Linked DNA regions of Homo sapiens: regions 2, 3 and 4 are each linked to region 1. The links are contacts of gene promoters, found by promoter capture Hi-C in human tissues and cell types (Jung and others, 2019). All regions are on one chromosome and are shown on one strand. The core of a region is centred on a gene start or on the middle of the fragment in contact, and the rest is flanking DNA. Distances in the headings are between cores, read along the strand shown.

Region 1 (3,685 bases), core at 1-2,500:
ACCTGACTGGCTTGTTAGCTGTTTATTTCGTCGGGAGAGGATTCCGTCTTGCGAATCCTAACGAGTTCGGGAAAAAACAAAACTTTACTCCTAAACTTCAAAACACACACACACACACACACACACACACGCACACACACTAAATACATATAATTGTAAAAATCACAGCCACGTTCATTTTTTTTAAAGTCCCAATCTAAAACCTTAAAGAAAAAAAAAGACTTGAAGGAACCAAAAACATTCTTTGATTTTGGTTTGACGTTGTTCAGTCCAACCTCCTCCTACCCAGGGGAATACATTTCTCGATATATTTGATAACAAACACAAATCACTGTGCGCAGCCTCAGATGGGGGTGGGGGGGCGGAAGAGCCTTTTGGAGAAAGCCCTCCTCCGTTAGAAACAATAAATAAGGGAGCGAAGCCATGCACGTTCCTTCACACACGCCCCAAACGCACCTCGGCGAGCCACCCGAGGAGGAAAACTAGTGGGGCAGAGCCCTGAACCACCTCTCTTTCTCCATAAGCATCTCAAGACTTGGAAACTAAGAGGACAGACCTTTTCCTCCTCCTTCCCGCCCTCCTTCCCACCTCCGACAGACCCAAGAGCAGGAGCGGGGGCGCCAGCCCCACGCACTGCGCCTGCAGCCGCCGCTGAGACCCGAGCTGCCGGGCGGCGGGGCGGCCCGGGGCAGGCGGACCGGAGCCGCCACCGGGGGTCTCTGCGCCTCGCACCCCCAAGCCCGGCGCTGCCGACGAGCGGCCGCCCGGGTCCCTGCCCTCGCTCCGGCCTCGCTCCCCCGAGAGGAGACAAAAGGAAGGTTCAGCCGGGTCACCGCGCGGCCGCTGACGGGGAAGCAGAGTCGACCCCGGCGCGGCCGCCCCCCACACAAAGGGGCTCCCCGCCTGGGTCGCGGCGTCGGCGCACTCGTCCCCGCCCCGCGCGCGGGCTCTCACCCACCTGCAGGTGTCTGTGCGTCTGTCCATAGGAACGCGGTCGGCGCGGGGGGGCCTGCGAGAGCCGGGCAGCCCGGGCTGGACGGGACGGGCCGAAGGGGCGCGAGGGCGGGAGGAGAGCGGCCAGAGGGCCGGGCACCAAAGGTAAGTGGAGCGGGGAAGGCGCCCGGCGGGCGGCGGACCGAGGAGCGGGGCGGGGGGCGGGGGCGCCAGCCTGGCTCGGCCGACCGCCGCGCGCCGCTCCGTGCGCCCCGAGCTCCGCGCGCCCGGCTCGGAGCGCGGCGGGCGGGCAGGGGGCGGGGCGCGGGCGGGCCGGGGCGGGGCCGGCGAGCGGGGCGGGGGCTCGGACCCCGGGCTCCAGCCGGCACCGGAAACGCGCCGTGGTCGGCGAGACCCACAGGAAGTGTGTAACGACACCTCCTACGGCACGCACCGAGCTCGCAGTCGTTGCTGCCCCGAGGAGGTGTAGATCGAGCCTCCTGCCGCACACACGTTCGCACGCGGCGGCCGGCGCGCTGGACCGAGAGGTTGGAGCAATCCATCCTCCGCGCGCACGAGCTCAGTCCCTACTGCCCCGACAGGTGTGGAACCCGCCGTCCCCGCTATGGTCCGAGGAAGTGTACAGCACTGCTCCCTACTACACGTCCTGGGCCCGCGGTCCCCGATGCCCCCCGGAGCTCTGTGCACCTCCACTGAAACGCAAGGAGCAGACAGAACCTACACCATCCGTGAGGTGTGTGATTTCCCTTATAACGCATTGAGTAGAGTTACCTCTCCGCCCAGGGATGTGCATTAACACTTTCTACCGAGATACTACGTACAGCCCATAGTCACCGCTGCCCCGTGAAGGTGCCCAACAACCACCTGTAACACACACACCCCTATCCCATCGAGGGAGCGGGGATGCTTAATGATACCTAAAATACACTAAAACTAGGTCCTCCAGCAAACCAGAGACACAAGAACACCACCTACACGACTCAGCACAGCAAAGATGAAGCTGGACTTGCTAGGTGCTACCAGGCTTGGTCCACCTTTATTTTACCTAACACTTTCGTAGTACTTGCTGTGTGCCCACAGTTTGCACTGAGTACTTAGCGAATATTAATTTATTTAATCCTAAGAACTCTACATAGTGGGTGCTATTAACATTGCCATTTTATGATAAGGAAACTGAGGCACAGAGAAATTAAGAAATTTTTTCAACATCACATAGATAGTAGCTAGAGGAGCCTGGATTCATTCCGGACAGTCTGGCTTCAGAGTCTGCTCTTAACTCCCTTTCTATTTACAGCACTGACCATCTCCAAAACAGTAATCATGGTAATAAATAACATTTACACCATATCTGTCAGGCCTTACGTAGTGCCCACATCTTGGCCTCACCTCATCTGTGACAGGCATACCCCAGTCACTTGTACCCTTGGAGTAGGTAAGGGAAGAGAAGAATATTTTTGAGGGAGAGAAAGAAGCTAACTTCTTAGCAAAGGAGAAAATATCCAGGGTCGTCCAGAATCCAAGCAGGTAACTTCATTACCACATCAAGCATGTTCTCTTTTAGGTAGCTTCTGCCAACCCCTCTCCATCTCTAGAGCTGATTCCGGTTGATGTTCTTAACACCTTCCTCTATCAACACTCTTCCAGGTCTAGGCTGAAATTTAAAATCTGTGTAAATGTTGACACAATAATGTTTGTACAAACAAAAAAGACCAAAAATGAAAACCCCCTAGTTAATTGCTGCATATTCTAAAGATGGGATCTTGTGGAGAAATTGGAACTCTTATGCAATGCTGATAGGAATGTAGATGGTACCACCACTATGCAAAACAGTGGGGAAGTTCCTCAAAAAACTAAAACTAGAGCTACCATATGATCCAGCAATCCCACTTCTGGGTAAATATCCAAAAGAATTGAAAGCAGGATATCGAAGAGATATTTGCACATTCATGTTCATTGCAGCACTATTCACAATAGCCAAGAGGTTGAAGCAGCCCAAATGTTCATCAACAGATGAAGAGATGAATGAAAATGTGATATATACATATAATGGAATATTATTCAGCCTTAAAAAGGAAGGAAATCTTATCACAGGCTACAACATAGATGAACCTTGAGGATGTTGTGCCAAGTGCAATAAACCAGTCACAAAAGGACAAATACTGTTATGATTTGACCTATATGAACTATGTAGAGGTATGTAAACTGTGGGATTATGTCAAACTTGTGGAAACAAGACGGTAGAATAGTGGTTGCTAGAGGGTAGAGGGAGGGGAAAATGGTGATATAATGTTTACTGGGTACAGAGTTTCAATTTTGCAAGATGAAAAATTTCTAGAGATGTTACACAATAATGTAAATATAACACCACCGAACTGTACACTTAAAAGTAGTTACAAAGGTAAATTTTAAATTGTTTTTGCCACAATCAACTTCAAAACAAATCTAATTTTATTTGTTTAAAGGATATTTCACTACAATGAATTTTTTTAATGATGCAGGCATCCAACCATGATGAGGTACCTTGTTGAACAAACTAACTCTGCCACTGAGAACGATGAAAGCTGTTTAAAAAAATAAATAAGTCTGTTTAAAACAATTGGAGAGCAACCCTGTCATCCAAGGCTTGAGAGTCCACGAGCCCCCCAGGAAGAAGAGAAATACTCTGAAGTGAGTCCTGCATTCTCAGCCGCTTTTCCTTCTCAGGGCATTGTTGATTTGTGTCTAGGAGTGT
Region 2 (3,685 bases), core at 787-3,286, 480 kb after region 1:
GAAAAAGAAAAAAAAAGTGTCATTTTTATGCATTGGCATTTCCTCCAGGTGATGAAATTTTAAAAATTAGCTGGGTGTGGTGGTGCATGCCTCTGGTCCTAGTTACTTGGGAGGCTGAGGCCGGAGGATCGCTTGAGCCCTGGACTTTGAGGCTGCAGTGCGAGACGATTGCACAATTTCCCTCCAGTCTGGGTGACAGAGCAAGACCCTGTCTCTAAAATAAAAAAAAGTTATGAGTTATGTTTACACTATACTGGAGTCTATTAAGTGTGCTATCACATTATGTCTAAAATATGGACTTATCTTAATTTAAAAATACCTTATTGCTAAAAATGCTAATGATCATGTGAGCCTAATGATCATCTGAGCCATTTAGCAAGTCATAATATTTTTGCTGGTGAGGGGGGTCTTGCCTCAATGTTGCTGACTGCTGACCCATCAGGGTGGGGATTGCTAAAGGTTGCGGTGGCTGGGAAAATTTCTTAACTAAGACAACAATGAAGTTTGTTGCATTGGTTGATTCTTCCTTTCATGAAAGATTTCTTGGTAGCGTGCAATGCTGTTTAATAGCATTTTACTAACAGTAGAGCTTCTTTCAAAAATGGAGTCAATCCTTGCAAACCCTGCCAGTACTTCTTCAACTAAGTTTATGTAATATTCTAAATCCTTTGTTATCATTTCAACAGTGTTCACAGAAAATTCACCACATGTCAATTTCATCTCAAGAAACCACTTTCTTTACTCATACATATGAAGCAATTCCTCATTCATTCACGTTTTATCATGAGATTGCAGTAATTCAGTCACATCTTCAGGCGCCACTTCTAATTCTAGTTCTCTTGTTATTTCCACCACATCTGCAGTGACTTCCCCCCACTAATGTATTGAACCCCTCAAAGTCATCCATGAGGGTTAGAATCAGTTTCTTCCAAACTCCTGTTAATATTGATATTTTGACCTCTTCCTATGAATCACAAAAGCTTTTTTTTTTTTCTTAATTGAGACAGAGTTTCACTCCTGTCGCCCAGACTGGAGTGCAATGAAGCAATCTGGGCTCACTGCAACCTCCACCTCCCGAGGTCAAGCAATTCTCCTGCCTCAACCTCCTGAGTAGCAGGGATTATAGGTGCCTGCCACCACGCCCAGCTAATTTTTGTATTTTTAGTAAAGACAGGGTTTCACCATGTTGGCCAGGCTGGTCTCGAACTCCTGATCTCAGGTGATCCACCCACCTCAGCCTCCCAAAGTGCTGGGATTACAGGCGTGAGCCACCGCACCCGGCCCACAAATGCTCTTAAAGGCATTTAGAATGATGAATCCTTACCAGAAGTTTTTCAATTTACTTTGCCCAGATCCATCAGAGGAATCACTGTCTGGCCTTATGAAACGTATGACAGATCCAACCTTATGAAATGTATTTCTTAAATAATAAGATTTGAAAGTCAGAATGACTCCTTGATCCATGGGCTGCAGAATGGATGTTGTGTTAGTAGGCATAAAAATGACATTAATTTCCTTTTATATCTCAATCAGAACTCTTGGGAACTCTTGGGTGACTAGTTACGTTGTCAGTGAGCAGTTATCTTTTGAAAGGGATCTTTTTTCCTGAGCAATAGGTCTCAAGAGTGGGCTTAAAACATTCAGCAAACCAGTCTGTAAACAGATGTTTTGTGATCTAGCACTCTCTACAGGCAGAGTACATTTTGTATAATTCTTAAGACCCTAGAATTTGGGGAATGGTAAATGAGCATCGGTTTTAACTTAAAGTCAACAGCTGTATTAGCTTCTAATGAGAGAGTCAACCTGTCTTCTGAAGCTTTGAAGTCAGGCATTGACTTCTCTCTAGCTGTGAAAGTCCTAGATGGCATCTTCTTCCAATAGAAGGTTGTTTCATCTACAAAATATGTTGTTTAGTGTAGCCACCTTCATCAATGATCTTAGCTACATCTTCTACATCTTCTGGATAACTTGCTATAGCTTCTGTATCAGCACTGCCTCAACTTGTACTTTTTTATGTTATGGAGACAGCCTCTTTCCTTGTGTTTGTTTGTTTGTTTGTTTGTTTGTTTGCTTGTTTGGTTTGTTTGTTTTTTTAGACAGGGGTTTGCTCTGTCACCTAGGCTGGAGTGCAGTGGCATGATCATGGCTCACTACAGCCTTGACCTTCCAGGCTCAAGTGATCTTCCCATTTCAGCCTCCCAAGCAGCTGGGACTATAGGTGAGCACCACCATGCCCAGCCAATTTTAAAAAAATCATTTTTCATAGAGATGAGGTCTTGTTATATTGCCCAGGCTGGTCTTGAACTTTTGAGCACAAGTGATCCTCCCATCTTGGCCTATCAAAGTGCTAGGATTACAGGCATGAGCCACTGTGCTTGGCCAGCTTCTTCCCTTAAACCTCATGAACAAATCTCTGCTTGTTTCAAGCTTTTCTTCTGAAGCTTCCTCACCTCTCTTAGCCTCATAGAACTGAAGAGTCTTAGGCCCTTGTTCTGGATTAGCCTGTGGCTTAAGGGAATGTTGTGGCTGGTTTGATCTTCTATACAGACCGTTTGAACTTTCTCTATATCAGCAATAAGGCTGTTTTGCTTTCTTATCATTCGTGTGTTCACTGAGTAGCACTTTTAATTTCTTTCAAGAACTTTTCCTTTGCATTCACAACTTGGTTGTCTGGCGCATGAGGCTTAGCTATGAGCCTTTTTTGGTTTTTGACATGCCTTCCTCACTAAGCTTAATCATTTCTAGTGTTTATTTAAAGGGAGAAATGTGTGACTCTCCCCTTGACTTGAACACTTACAGACGGATGTGGGGTTATTAATTGATTTAATTTCAGTATCGTTGTGTCTCAGGGGATCCCTATTCCCTATGAAGGCCAAGGAGAGTGAGAGAGACAGAGAAATGGCCAGTTGGTGGGGCAGTCAGTACACACACATTTATCAAGTATGTTTACCATCTTATATGGGCATGGTTTGTGGCACCCCAAAACAGTTACAATAGCAACGTCAAAGATCACAGATCATAAATCACTGTAACAGACATAATAATGGAAAAGTTTGAAATATTTCAAAATTATCAAAATGTGACACTGAGACATGAAGTGAGCACATGCCATTGGAAAACTGGCACCGATAGCCTGCTGGACTCAGGGTTGCCACAAGACTTCAATTTGTAAAAAACACAATATCTGTAAAGTACACTCAAGCAAAGCACAATAGAATGAGATACACTTATACATTTCTTGTGAGTTTCTGAGTTCAGGGACTGAATCTCAGGTAGGTGAGCCATACTGGACAAGAATCAGCACGACCCGGGTTCGAACTCTGGTTCTTCCACTGGCTGTATGACCACTGCCGATCATTAACATTTTCAAGCCTTCATTTCCTCATCTGCAAAATTCCAGCAACAACCCCTATGCCTCCAGAAGTGTGAGAATTAAATGAGATAGTGCCTGAAAGTGCATTTTAGGACCACCTCTGTCTCCTTTGCGGTCCAACGCAGGAGGCATACAAAATTGCTGACGCTCCTGTCTGTGGCTACCACACTGCGGGCAAGATAAGGCCTAGCTTTGGAAAAAACACTTTGCACCACGCATTTTCCCCTTCTTTGGAGGGTTGTAACTAGTCCTGAGAATTAATACCATTCTCTCACCCTCCCACTGTGCCTCTAACAAACACAGCATAATCTC
Region 3 (3,685 bases), core at 726-3,225, 410 kb after region 1:
TGGTTGTATAGCTTCTGGATATTTAAAGCATTTAAAATACTTTATACTTAAACAAAAAATGCTTGTGGCTCTTTCTTTCTCAGGAATATTTAGTTGGCATCCTGTTGCAAGTACTTTAAGAGTAGATTACTAGCTAGGCACAGTGGCTCAAACCTGTAATCCCAGCACTTTGGGAAGCTGAGGAGGGTTGATCATGTGAGGATCATTTCGAGATCAGCCTGGCTGACGTGGTGAAACCCCACCTCTACTAAGAATACAAAAATTAGCTGGGTGTGGTGTCAGGTGCCTGTAATCCCAGCTACTCGGGAGGCTGAGGCAGGAGAATTGCTTGAACCCAGGAGGTGGAGGTTGTGTTGATCTGAGATCGCACTCCAGCCTAGGCAACAAGAGCAAAACTCCATCTCAAAAAAAAAAAAAAAAAAAAAAAAAAAAAAGTAGATTACTATCAGGGGACAATGATTGTAGTCCTCCGGCTATAGGGCCCCAGTAAATTCACTTTCCACTCATTTTCTCCTCCCTCTTCACATCTGTGACCCCCACTTCACACATGCTCTGAGCAAATACTAAGCATATTAGCTTCTTGATTCTTATTTCACTGAGAAATTAGAAGTAGTCAGGTGAGGACTTCCCACGCTCAGCCCTGCCGTTCCTCCTTGCATCCTGTTCTGCCTCCCTTCCTGTCCCTGCTCGTGTGTAAGGCTGCCATCCCCTCAACTTGTGCCTTAGATCCCATCCCTTCTTCCCTGATCAGCACTTCCCCTCAATACAGAATTATCCCCAGCATTGCCTAGCATGTTGCAACATCCTCCTTGTGAACGAAAAGAAAGAAAAAATGAGCAGACCTTCTTTGAGCCCATATTTGTCTTCAGCTACTTTGCCTTCTCTCTGCCCCTTTCTATAAAAACTCCTTGAAAGAAATGGCTGTTCTGTAGGCTCCACAGCCCTACCTCCTGTTCTCACTTTCACTCATCCCACGTGGGAAACATACGTCTTCATTGCTTTACTGAAAGGCTCTTCGTTTGATCTCCGTCTTGCCAAATCCAATGGCCAGTTTTGTTCTTATCTGATTTCTTCGATAGCGTTGACACTCCCTCCCTCTTGAAACCCCCTCTCCCTTAGTTTTGGTTCCTTCTGCCTTGCTGTCCCCTCTCAGTCTTCTTTGCTAGCTCCATCTACTTTTATGACCCCTCTTCAGCCTCCTTTTCTTCATTATCTACCCTTTCTGCTTAGGTGATCTCAACCAGTCTTATGGCTATAACTATTACCTATATGCAGAGGATTTCCAAAGATCAATTTCTAGTCCCAGCCTCTCCTTTGAGCACCAGACTCCTATATCCACCCAACTTCTACACATGTCCTATTGAACATCTAATACGCAAATCAAACGGAACTTGTGATTTCTCACCTCTGCCCTCGCCCCCAAATCGGTTTCCACCCAGGCTTCTCTGTTTCTATCTGTTACTTTCTGTCTGTTATTGGAATTTCTGTTCACCCAATTGTTCAGACCAAAAACAAGTCCTAATTGGTTCTATCCCATCCCCAAATTTCTAATCTGTCAACAAGCCCTGTTGGCTTGCTGTCTGAAATATATTCTGAATTCCACCACTTCTCCCCACCTGTGCCTTTTCCACAACTACCCTAATCCAAGACAGCCACCTCTTGCTTGGATTCCTGCTGTAGTTTTCAAACTGGTTTTCTCTTGCCTATATACCTCCCACCCTGGACCTTAGTCTTAGTCTTCACCATAACTTTCAAAAGATCACTCAGCACTCAGAGTGATCTTTTAAAAATGCATTTGGGAACATGTCAGCACCAGCTCAAAACTCTCCAGTGAGTTTCCATTAAAGTTAGAATGGAATCCAAGTTCCTCATCATAGGACATGTCATCTGGCCCCTGCCTACTTCTAATTCATCTCCCCCTGCTCTCCTCCTTTCCCATTAAGCATCAGCTGTCTCCCTGGCCTTCTTGCAGTTCCTTCAATGGGTCAAAGTTTTTCCAGCCTCCAGACTTTTCCATCTGCAGTTCACACTTCCTGGGACACTGTCAACATATGGCTTCTCCATAGTTGTTCAGGTGCCTGCTCAACTGCCATCACCAGCCTCCACGCTAGTACTCTGTATCTACTTACCCTGCTTCAATTTCTTCATAGAGCTTCATATTAATAAAAAATATTAATTATTAGTTTTTAGAGATAGGGTCTCACTCTGTCACCCAGGCTGGAGTGCAGTGGTGCAATCATAACTCACTGCAGCCTTGAGCCCCTGGGCTGTAGCAATCCTTCTGCCTCAGCCTGCTGAGTAGCTGGGACTATAGGCGCTCACCACCATGCCTGGCTAATTACAAAAGGGATTTTTTTGTTTTTATTTTTTGTAGAGATGAGGGTCTCCCTATGTTGCCTAGGCTGGTCTTGAACTTCTGGCCTCAAGTGATCCTCCCATCTCACCTCCCAAAGTGCTGAGATTATAGGCATGAGTCTCTGTGCCCAGCCTAGAGCTTGTTTTCTAAAAACTTATTTTTTTTTTATTTTCTTTCTCTCCCACTAAAATAGGAGCTTCCTGAAGACAGTGATTTTTGTCTGTATGTTTTACATTCAACCCTCAGTGGGTAAGAATGGTACTGATAGATAGCATAACAGCCCAAAATTTTAAAATAACAGCCAGTGGGTGGTATTGGTGTTGAGGAGATGTCTGGTTAGGCAATGAATTCTGGCTACCAGAAAGAATTCCCCACATTTTGGGCTGGAGAGACAAGTGGTGTTCAGTCTGGGCATTTCTTTCTGTGGTGACTTATTAAAATGAATAGCGACTCCATCTCCATTTCCTACTCTGTGGTCTTTCTCATATTTGGATGCTGTGCTTTTCTGGTTTGAAGGACCGTTGCATATTTTTTTGAGTAAAGGGGAGGGGGTTTCATCTTGATGAGACACTTACTCCTTGTTTGGTAGGCTGAATAGAGCTTTAGTGGCTCAAGTTCCCTCTCTCTGTGCTCATGGCCACCAGGGGACATTGTTGAGCTGTTTAATGTTCATTGAGATGCCTATTTTCCAACTCTACCCACTTTAAAGGACTCGTAATTTTAAAGAAGCATAAAAAAATCAAGTTGCTTTGATCTTATGAAAGAGTTAAAAAAAAAAAAAAACCAACCCCTTTCTTTTATAAAAGGAGGAAAAAAGAGAAGCTTATGTGTTGATGTGCAGAGATACTCGTGGTTTCCTAAGAAGTGTGTGGCCTTATTTCGGTAAAATCATGAACTTTTGAATTTTGGCAGATGTGTTAGGCTAAGGATTTGGGTCTGGACAATGTAGCTGCTCATTTCCCAGAAGGAAAGAGAGTGGAATTTCCCTTCTGAGTGTCTTACGTTAAATCTTACTGATGGGAACAGGATGAAAACAAGTGCTTTAAATACATCGCTGACCTCAGAGGACAGTGAAGGTTCTAGGAATGTTGAGGGACAGAGGCAAGTGTTTCGGTGAATGCAGGAAAGCAGGGGCTGGCGAGGGGGTGGGTGAGATGGAGCTGTGGCCTCACGGTGTTTCTGACTCTTGGCTGATAGGCTGCAGACGGCACATTGAACTGAATTCTTCAGGATAGCCCCACGGCACGCATCCCCTTTAGGACAGGGTGAGGAACAAACTTTCATCCTTGATGCAGGCCCCAAAGAGTCAGAAGAGCATCCACATGTTGA
Region 4 (3,685 bases), core at 495-2,994, 360 kb after region 1:
CCCAGCTAATTTTTGCATTTTTAGTAGAGATGGGGTTTCACCATGTTGCCCAGGCTGGTCTCGAACTCCAGGTCTCAAGTGATCTGCCTGCCTAGGCCTCCTAAAGTGCTGGGATTACAGGTGTGAGCCACCATGCCTGGCTTACCATCTAATATAGTTTGGATGTTTGTCTCCTCCATATCTCATGAGAAATGTGGTCTCCAGTGTTGGAGGTGGGGCCTGGTGGGAAGTGTTTGGGTCATGGGGGTAGATCACTCAGGAATGGCTTTGTGTCCTCCCCTTGGTGATGAGTTCTTGCTCTTAGTTCACATGAGAGCTGATTGTTAAAAGGAACCTGGCACCTCCTTCTCTCTTTCTGGCTCCCTCTCTTGCTGTGTGACATGCCTGCTCCCTCTTCACCTTCTGCCACGATTGTCAACTTCCCAGGGCCCTCACCTGAAGCAGATGCTGGTGCCATGCTTCTTGTACAGCCTGCAGAACCATGAGCTGGATAAACCTCTTTTCTTTATAAATTACCTAGTCTCAGGTATTCCTTTATAGCAACATGAAACTGATGAATACACCATCTTAACTATTTTTAAGTGTGCAGTTCAGTAGTGTTTATGTATACCAATCTTGTTGCACAACCAATCTCCAGAACTTTTTCATCTTGCAAAACTGAAACTTTATACCCATTAAACAACAACTCCCCATTTGCCCCTCCCCACAGCCCCTGGAACCTCACCCTTCTACTTTCTGTCTCTTGTGAATTTCACTACTGTAGGTATCTCATATGGTACTTGTTCATTTGAGACTGGCTTATTTCACTAAGCATAATGTCTTTAAGATACATCCATGTTGTAACATGTGTCAACATTTCCATTCTTCATATAGTCCATTATATGAGTATCCCATGTTTTGTTTATCCATTCATTTGTTGATGGACACTTGGGTGTGTGTTCCATCTTTTGGCTATGATGAATAATGCTGCTATGAAATGTGTGTACAAATCTCTCTTTGAGACCCTGTTTTCAATTCTTTTGGATATATATCCAGAAGTGGAATTGCTGGTGAAAAGGAGTCTTGAGGCCTGGTGCAATGGCTCATACCTGTAATCTCTGTACTTTGGGAGGCTGAGGCAGTGGATCACTTGAGGTCAGGAGTTCAAGACCAGCCTGGCCAACATGATGAAACCCCATGTCTACTAAAAATACAAAAATTAGCCGGGTGCAGTGGCTCACACCTGTAATCCCAGCACTTTGAGAGGCCAAGGCAGGAGGATTGCTTGAGCCCAGGAGTTCAAGACCAGCCTGGGTGACATAGAGAGACCCCATCTCTACAAAAAATTAAAAATTTGCCAGGTGTGGCGGTGCACACCTGTAGTCCCCAGTACTCAGGTGGCTGATGCAGGAGAATTGCTTGAACCCAGGAGACAGTCGTAAGCCAAGATCACATCCCTGTACTCCAGCCTGGGGGATAGAGCGAGACTCTGTCTCAATTAAAAAAGGAGTTTTGAGACTTCACTTCATATTCTAGCAATGCCATATATTAGCTGTGTGTCATTAGGCCAGGCATTCTGAGCCTCGGTTTCCTCATCTATAAAAGAGGGAAATAAAGTCTGTTTTTCTTACCTCAGAGAGTGTTGAAAAGGAATCGAATAAGATAATCTGTGGGGCGCATTTTAGAAAGCTGAAAGCACCATGCACATGTTAGTCTTTTTCCTAAAGTTGTTAGCCTCATGTGAAGATCTTCTCATGAATCAGAAGCGTGTACTTCTACATGATTCATTTCACACCTCTGCCTCTGAGGAACAAGGTGAGAAAAGGCAATGATTCTTACCATTTGTGGTGGTTGATCAGAAGGTATGACAAATGGTTGTCACATAGTCCCTGGGAATATATTTCTGGCTGTTGACTTGCTTGGCTCTGAAGACAGGTCTCTGAAGAGTGAAATCTCCAGGAGCTTTGATCTGGGTCTCTGGTTTGACTAGCAGCAGAATTGTGGTCTTGCCCACCAACATTTTCCATCGGAAATTCTGGCCAGAGCAAACAAGACATGTAGGCCCCTGGGGATTATTTGTCCATAGAGCAGTGGTTCATAACGATGTTGGGGATGGGAATTTGAGGAAATCTGTCCATTCATTCAATAGATATCTATTTAGCATACACTATTTGTCAGGTACTTTGTCGGCATGACCCTCTTGGAATTTACAGTGCAACAGGGGAAACAGACCTTTTCCCCAAAGGTATGCACATACACATACACATATAATGTTTTACAAGTAGCAAGGTGTTCCTGGACCTCTGAAATCCTTGAGTAAAGCATTCTTGGGATAGATGGAAAGCTCACCTCTGCTGTTGAGGCCCTGTATGTGCCATGCAATTCCTATATTTGGTTATCTCCATCGCGAATTCAAGAGGATGTAGGCCAGAGACTGCAATCAGAAAAACAAAGAAGGGTAGAGCTGGATAAGAACCCAGAGATACAATGCAGTCTTCTCTTAGAGAGGTCTCATTGACTTGCCCAGCCTGCACAGAGGAGCAAGGGCAAACGTGTAACTGACACCAAAGACTCTAGGGGGGTCCAGTCTTAATAATTGGAGCTAATGCCACGCTGGACTAGACTGATGGTCACTCCAACCTATCATGGCATTTGCAAAAGCATCTCCAAGAGTTATTTGGAGGAGGTGAGGTAGCTGCCTCCTGGAATGCTGAATTCAATGTTTGGGGAAGTATTCCCGACACAGAACAACTGCTGGAGTCACTTGGTAAGAGCTGGGTATAGCTTGTGAGCCTCAGCCATTTGCTTCATTGCTCAAGCTGCTCTGCCTCCAACATTCAGCAGTCAATGGGGGTATAAGAATTAGTCACCGCATGAAAAACCAGTGGATCTGCATGGGGCATAGTAAGCTATTAATTAGCTGATGCTTGTAGAGCACTTTGAAGAACAAACATGTTATGTAACTGCTAATTATAATTACCATCCTCAGCCTGCTACCTTTCACAAAGTCTGTGGCTCCAGCTGCAGCTGTTTCCATGGGTTTATGCAAGCTTTGATTTAAGAAAAGAAAAGGCATTCTCCCTGAGAGCTGTGATCTTTCTGTGAGGAGGCCTTTATGCCCTCAATCAGGATTGGCAGCTAAATTCAATTTCCGCAGATAAAGGGGATGATTTACATGCTGATTAATTCATGGTACAGTGCAGATGATCTCTGGGTGGGTAGGTAGGAGAGGCTTCTGGTAATGTAGTGAGAGCTGCTGATTACCATGGCTCTTGCTCAGCTACCCCTCTTCTTTTTTCTTTTCCCTGTTTTTCACTTGTTACCTATTTCTTCACTCCCCTCATCCCAACTGTCTCTGTGTATTTTGTTGTTGTTGTTGGAGATGGAGTCTCACTCTGTCACCCAGGTTGAAGTGCAGTGATCACAGCTCACCACAGCCTCCAACTCCTGGGCTCAAGCGATCCTTCTGCCTCAGCCTCCCAAGCAGCTGGGACTACAGACATGACCCACCACGCATGGCTAAATTTTAAAAATGTTTTTTGTAGAGACGGGTGTCTCACTATGTTGCCCAGGCCGGTCTCAAACTGCTAGCCTCAAGCCATCCTCCTGCCTCTGTGTATTTTATATTTCCCTGTCTTCGTGTTCACGTTTGGCTTCCCCTCTCATCTTTTTCTACTTTTCTGCTTCTCTCTGAATGCCTCCTACC

Evidence for each region. Contacts are between HindIII fragments. The study calls those that stand out against the background at their distance.
Region 2: a fragment that was not itself captured here is called in contact with the fragment with the promoter of KIAA1958 in region 1 in 1 of the 25 tissues and cell types used here (H1 embryonic stem cells).
Region 3: a contact is called between a fragment that was not itself captured here and the fragment with the promoter of KIAA1958 in region 1, in 1 of the 25 tissues and cell types used here (aorta).
Region 4: a contact is called between a fragment that was not itself captured here and the fragment with the promoter of KIAA1958 in region 1, in 1 of the 25 tissues and cell types used here (mesendoderm cells).

Annotation. Positions count from the first base shown.
Region 1 is chr9:112,484,392-112,488,076 of GRCh38, reverse strand. KIAA1958 reads right to left here and starts at 1,250. Exons shown (of 4, transcript NM_133465.4): 1 at 959-1,250. It overlaps HSDL2-AS1 (HSDL2 antisense RNA 1), which reads left to right and starts at 433. Exons shown (of 5, transcript NR_171779.1): 1 at 433-1,098; 2 at 1,536-1,687. RefSeq lists silencers at 652-1,141, 1,222-1,281 and an enhancer at 1,712-1,771. The HindIII fragment of the contact is 14,239 bases long and covers 1-3,685 here.
Region 2 is chr9:112,006,903-112,010,587 of GRCh38, reverse strand. No RefSeq gene overlaps it. Among named protein-coding and RNA genes, the nearest start is that of LINC02977, 32 kb to the left of the region's middle. The HindIII fragment of the contact is 4,293 bases long and covers 1-3,685 here.
Region 3 is chr9:112,074,249-112,077,933 of GRCh38, reverse strand. All of the region lies in intron 12 of SUSD1 (sushi domain containing 1), which reads left to right. Among named protein-coding and RNA genes, the nearest start is that of LINC02977, 36 kb to the right of the region's middle. RefSeq lists an enhancer at 744-843. The HindIII fragment of the contact is 3,586 bases long and covers 183-3,685 here.
Region 4 is chr9:112,119,975-112,123,659 of GRCh38, reverse strand. The region is part of intron 6 of SUSD1 (sushi domain containing 1); the gene reads left to right. Among named protein-coding and RNA genes, the nearest start is that of SUSD1, 53 kb to the left of the region's middle. RefSeq lists an enhancer at 2,595-3,166. The HindIII fragment of the contact is 3,498 bases long and covers 1-3,493 here.